Linked DNA regions of Homo sapiens: region 1 is linked to region 2. Evidence: promoter capture Hi-C in human tissues and cell types (Jung and others, 2019). All regions are on one chromosome and are shown on one strand. The core of a region is centred on a gene start or on the middle of the fragment in contact, and the rest is flanking DNA. Distances in the headings are between cores, read along the strand shown. Region 1 overlaps C16orf96 (chromosome 16 open reading frame 96). Region 2 holds the start of CDIP1 (cell death inducing p53 target 1).

What was found. Contacts are between HindIII fragments. The study calls those that stand out against the background at their distance.
Region 1: a contact is called between a fragment that was not itself captured here and the fragment with the promoter of CDIP1 in region 2, in 1 of the 25 tissues and cell types used here (mesenchymal stem cells).

What each region holds. Positions count from the first base shown.
Region 1 is chr16:4,571,508-4,574,601 of GRCh38, forward strand. It overlaps C16orf96 (chromosome 16 open reading frame 96), which reads left to right. Exons shown (of 16, transcript NM_001145011.2): 2 at 54-158. Among named protein-coding and RNA genes, the nearest start is that of C16orf96, 17 kb to the left of the region's middle. The HindIII fragment of the contact is 3,047 bases long and covers 113-3,094 here.
Region 2 is chr16:4,537,025-4,540,032 of GRCh38, forward strand. CDIP1 (cell death inducing p53 target 1) reads right to left here and starts at 1,749. Exons shown (of 6, transcript NM_013399.3): 1 at 1,678-1,749. It also overlaps a transcript of C16orf96 not described here. RefSeq lists silencers at 1,146-1,365, 1,376-1,665. The HindIII fragment of the contact is 9,452 bases long and covers 1-3,008 here.

The DNA.
Region 1 (3,094 bases), core at 386-2,885, 34 kb after region 2:
TACCTTCTCCCCCAGCCATACCCGGCTTCACATTTTCTCCTCCTCTTTTGCAGTCAATGCAGACCCTGCAGGACTTGCTCACTGATCTTCATGCACTCCAGGTCACCATCACAGCCCTCAGAAAAGAAGTGGACATGCTGAAGAACATGCTTGACAAGGTAGGCCCTCCCCCAGCATCCTCCATGCCAGCTGCGTTGCTCAGGCCTCTGGGGGTTGGAGCAATGAGGAAAATCTAGGAAGCTTACTGTTAGGCCAAGAGTGCAGCTGTGAGGGTGTGGTCATGTGGACCCTCCAATTGGCCAGTGCCACCGACTTCTCTGTGACCCCTCCATGCTTTCTTTTCTTTTCTTTTTTTTTTTTAAGACAGAGTCTCACTCTGTTGCCCAGGATGGAGTGCAATGGCATGATCTTGGCTCACGGCAACCTCTGCCTCCCGGGTTCAAGTGATTCTCCTGCCTGAGCTTCCCGAGTAGCTGGGATTACAGGCACGCACCACCACATCTGGGTAATTTTTGTATTTTTAGTAGAGACAGGGGTTCATCTTGTTGGCCAGGCTGGTCTCGAACTTCTGACCTCGTGATCCACCCACCTCAGCCTCCCAAAGTGCTGGGATTACAGGTGTAAGCCACCATACCTGGCCGACCCCTCCATGCTTTCTACCCCAGTGTGTTAAAACGTTAGTTGTAAGTGACAGAAATCACGTTCATCCTGGATTAGGCAAAATAAGGGATTTATTGTCTCATTTACTAAAAGGTCCAGGGACGGCCAGATCTAGGTACTCATGCAATACTTATATTTCTTTTTTTTTTTGAGATGGAGTCTCGCTCTGTTGCCCAGGCTGGAGTGTAGTGGCTCGATCTTGACTCACTGCAACCTCCACCTCCCGGGTTCACGCCATTCTCCTGTCTCAGCCTCCCGAGTAGCTGGGACTACAGGCGCCCGCCCCCATGCCCGGCTAATTTTTTTTGTATTTTTAGTAGAGATGGGGTTTCACCATGTTAGCCAGGATGGTCTCAATCTCCTGACCTCTTGATCCGCCCGCCTCAGCCTCCCAAAGTGCCAGGATTACAGGCGTGAGCCACCACATCCGGCAATACTGACGTTTCTCAGTGAAACTTTCCTCCCAGTTGGCTTCATTCTCAGGCAGGTGCTCCTCAAGTCTTGGCAACAGCAGACTTATATTCCACCAACCTAGCAAAAAGAAAACCTCTTCCCCTTCTGGAAAGCTCTGTCCACATGGAAAGTGGAATAATCATAATAGTGCAGGCATACATACAAGCTCCTTCTGTACTTCTGTAGCCAAAAACCATCAGCCAAGTATTTTCTAACACCCTACCATGCATGGAAGGACATGGAGTCCCCGAGACATGAGGCAGCTGTCCCCGTCACAACTGATGAGTCACAGCTGGGGTCTGAAGCCAGCTCTCCACACCCCCAGGTTTAACAACTTCCCCCAAATAGTGTAATTTTCTGTATCATCCCGGCTTCACAGATCAGGGCCTGTATTTGATCATCATGGCAACTGTGGGAGCTTTAGGCATGGGCTGGATGGCTCCCATCTAAGCAGAAAGAACGCTGTTAAAAGCTGCATCATGAGCTACTCAAAAGGGCCCCTTAGACAAAGCTGTTGGAGAAACCATGCCTTCTCGGCGGGGCCTGGTGTCTCACGCCTGTAATCCCAGCACTTTGGGAAGCCAAAGCAGGCGGATCACCTGAGGTCAGGAGTTCGAGACCAGCCTGGCCAACATGGTAAAACCCCCGTCTCCACTAAAAATACAAAAATTAGCTGGGTGTGGTTGCAGGCACCCGTAACCCCAGCTACTCAGGAGGCTGAGGCACGAGAATCACTTGAACCCAGGAGGTGGAGATTGTAGTGAGCCAAGATTGCGCCACTGCACTCCAGCCTGGGTGACAGAGCAAGACTCCGTCTCAAAAAAAAAAAAAAAAAAAAGGTGGGGTCGGTGGGGCGGCATGGTGGTTCACGCCTGTAATCTCAGCATTTTGGGAGGCTGAGGTGGGCAGATCACAAGGTCAGGAGATCGAGACCATCCTCGCTAACACGGTGAAACCCCATCTCTACTAAAAATACAAAAAATTAGCTGGATGTGGTGGCAGGTACCTGTAGTCCCAGTTACTCAGGAGGCTGAGGCAGGAGAATGGTGTGAACCTGGGAAGTGGAGCTTGCAGTGAGCCGAGATCACACCACTGCACTCCAGCCTGGGCAACAGAGTGAGACTCTGTCTCAAAAAAAAAAAAAAAAGAAAAAAGAAAAGAAAAACAATGCCTTATTGGCCTGTCTCTTGGAGGTGTTTTTGTTGTTGTTGTTTTGTTTTGTATTCTTTTTGAGACGGAGTCTCTCTCTGTCACCCAGGCTGGAGTGCAGTGGCACGATCTCAGCTCACTGCAACCTCTGCCTCCCGGGTTCAAGTGATTTTCCTGCCTCAGCCTCCTGAGTAGCTGGGATTACAGGTGCAAGCCACCACGCCTAGCTAATTTTTGTGTTTTTAGTGGAGGTGGGGGCTTCACCACATTGGTCAGGCTGGTCCCGAACTCCTGAACTCATGATCCACCCGCCTCAGCATCCCAAAGTGCTGGGATTACAGGCATGAGCCACTGTGCCCGGCCCTCTTGGAGATTCTTAATGTGCTTTTGCTCATTCAAGGCTCTGGGAAGTCCTGCCGTACAGAAACCTGTTGAAATGTTTTTTATTTATTTATTTATTTACTTATTTTTGAGACAAAGTCTCACTCTGTTGCCCAGGCTGGAGTGCAGTGGCGCCATCTCAGCTCACTGCAACCTCTGCCTCCTGGATTCAAGTGATTCTCCTGCCTCAGCTTCCTGATAGCTGGGATTACAGGCGCATGCCATCAGGCCCAGCTAATTTTTGTATTTTTAGTAGAGACGGTGTTTCACCATGTTGGCCAGGCTGCTGTCGAACTCCTGACCTCAAGTTATCCACCCACCTTGACCTCTCAAAGTGCTGGGGTTACAGGCATGAGACACTGTGCCCGGCCTGACATGCTTTCAAGCCCAGCATTTCCCAAACTTGTTTGCCCATGGAACCCTTTCCCACTCCTTGGGAAACACTGGATTT
Region 2 (3,008 bases), core at 499-2,998:
AAGGGTGAGAGACGGATTTCTAAATACCCAGGGCTTCCATTAAGGTAAAAACCATTAAGAAGATAAAAAAGTCAAACCCAATAAACAACAATTCTAAGACTCTAATTAATGACATGCATGCTTATTTGGGAGGGAAAGGCACTGATATCTGCAACTTACTTTGACACAAAAAACAAGAGGGACTGCTGGTTGGACAAATATGTGATGAAATACAATAAAGTGTTAACTCTACATTCTAGGTGGTGGTCTGTGGGTGTTCACTGTAAAATTCCTTCAACTTTTGTATGTTTCACGTTTTTCGTAACTGAATGTGTAGAGGGGGAGTCTTCTGAGACTGGCAAGTGACTGGGCATAACCTTTCCGATTAAGGGCAGAGGGCAAGGCAGAGCTGGCACGCCTCCCTCCACCCAGTTCTACCTAGATCGGCCCCAAGGGAAGCAGCAAAGAACCCAGGAGAGCAGTAACTTGCCCGGGCACCGCCCCGCCCAGCATCAGGCCCCAGAATACAGAAGAAACTGGCAGAAACACTATGGAACGTCCCTGCCCCCGGGCCCGCCAACCCCCTCACTGGGACAGGTTCTCAGCCCCAGCTGCGCCCGGGAATGATCTGGGGAGCCTACTAAATGCAGATTCCTGGGCAGCGCGACGGAACTACAGCATCCCAACACCTGGGGTGGGCCCCAGGAATCTGCCCGTTTCCCAAGAGCCCCAGGTGGTTCTGACGCAGAGGATCTTGAGCCCACCTTTGGAGGAACTCACAGCCACTCGCCCCACCTCATCTAACACCTGTTGAGAAGCCCCCCAAGGAACTCGCTAAGCCAAGGTCCTCGAAGGCGCGACTCCTAGCCCCAAGCTAGGCCAGGCCGTCGCCATCTCCGCCGGGGATGCGCGGCCGAGCGCCACATCCCGACTCCACACGTCGGCGAGCCGGGCGCGGGTGCAGGACACTGCTGGGCTCCGGGACGGCCAAGGTCACCCGCGGGGCTCGGCAGGGGCTGGCTCGGCCACGGGGCTCCTCCTCGACCCCCTTTCCTTGAGAAAACAACTCCCACCCCTCCCCTCCCCGTCTCGCCCTGCAAGACGGAGATGGCAATTTCCACAACCTTCCCTGACGGAAAAACGTGCGGGCGAGCAGGCTGCCATTCCGGGCGCACAACCCCGCGGCACACAGCGGGGCGCCCGCCCGGGCCCCGCCACCGCAGCGGCTTCGACATCCCCAGGGCCGCGCTAGGTCTCGGCAGCGCCCTGAGGGGAGGACGGGCCCCGCCATGCCGCGCCCCAACCGCCGGCCCCGCTTTACCTCCAGAAGCCCGGTGCCCGAGGCCGGCCGAAAGCGGAGAGGGGCCCGGGTCCGGACAGGCGCCGGCAGAACAAGACCCTCAGCCCCGCGCGGCTTTGCGCGCACAACGAAACCCCCCAACCCACCGCCCACCCCACCGCCCAGAGGCTTCTAGGACTTGTAGTCCGCCCGGTCACCCCCCCCACCACAACCCGCTCTGAGAGGCTGGGGACTACGGTGCCCGGCATGCACCGCCCAGGCGCCGCGGGCGGGGGCGGGGAGGGGGCGCCACGGTCCGAGGTCACGCCCCGACCTGAGGAGAGCTGGCGCCCAGACCCTTCCCCCGGGGAGGAGGGCTCCCGCGCGAAGCCGTCTCCGAATGCGTCCAGTCGACTCACCGTCCCCGCAGCCCTGGGGCAGCGGCCGCAACAGCAGGACCGAACGCCTCGGCAGCTGGCAGTCGCACTTCTGTCACAAGGAGGCGGGTAGACTTTGGACCAGGGCCGAGGCCCGGGACGTCACGGTGGGGGGTGGGGTCTCGGGAGGCACGTGATGCGCCGTGATGACGTCAGTGGGAGCGGAGGCGATTTGGCCTAGAGCTGGGGCTGAGCACGTGGGATGGTCGGGGCCTGTTTGCCCAATGTACACGAGGCTGGAGAATAGGGAAAGAACCGTCCCTGTGAGCGCCTCCTCTTCACTCATGCCAGCAACAGGGCAGGGCATCTTCCTCCAGGGCTGCATTTTTTCTTTTATGCGACTAATATTTATTGAGTTTGGGAGGTGCATTACATAAAACCTTGAACCACACGGTCACTGTCCCTGCGCTTGAAACTGCCTTTGCAAAAATTACAACAGAAAATTATGACAGTGAAAGAGAGCTGACCTAACCCACTCCATCTTGCTTCTAACCTCCAGGTTGTCCTTGTTCATTCCTAGGCATAGGCAGAACTAACTTTGGGAGCAACTTAGTTTATAGTTTAATATTGAAACAAAGATAGTTAACAGCCCTTTCCCAAAACAAACCCCCTTGTTGCCTGAGAACCAGGCTTCCTTTGTAAGAGTAACACGTTAGCTACAAGATTAGACATTATAGTTTAGGGCCCAGCTCAGTGGCTAACGCCTGTAATCCCAGCACTTTGGAAGGCTGACGCAGGTGGATCACTTGAGGTCAGGAGTTTGAGACCAGCCTGGCCAACATGGTGAAACCATGTCTCTATTTAAAAATACAAAAATTAGCCGGGTATGGTGGCACGCACCTGTAATCCCAACTACTAGGGAGGCTGAAGCCCAAAAATTGCTTGAACCCGAGAGATGGAGGTTGCAGTGAGCTGAGATTATGCCTCTGCACTCCAGCCTGAGCAAGAGACTGAGACTCCATCTCAAAAAAAGAAAGAAAGAAAGAAATTACGGTTTAGGAGTCATGCACCCAGAGGCCACAAGATTCTAAACCTCCCCAGTTGATCCTAGGTATAATATCACTATTGTAAAACCTAAGATTGGTACTCTTAGGTGTTTTTCTGACCCTGCAGTCTGATGCACCAGCCAAGGCCACCTAGAGCTGTAATCTGACTCAACCAGTTCTTGCATCCTTCAACACCCTGTGATTTCATCTCCCACCCCACCAATCAGCACTCCCTACTCCTTGGCAGCTTATCTACCAAATTACCCTTTAAAAACTCTAGGCTCTGAATTTCCAGGGAGACTGATTTGAGTAATGAAACTTTGGTCT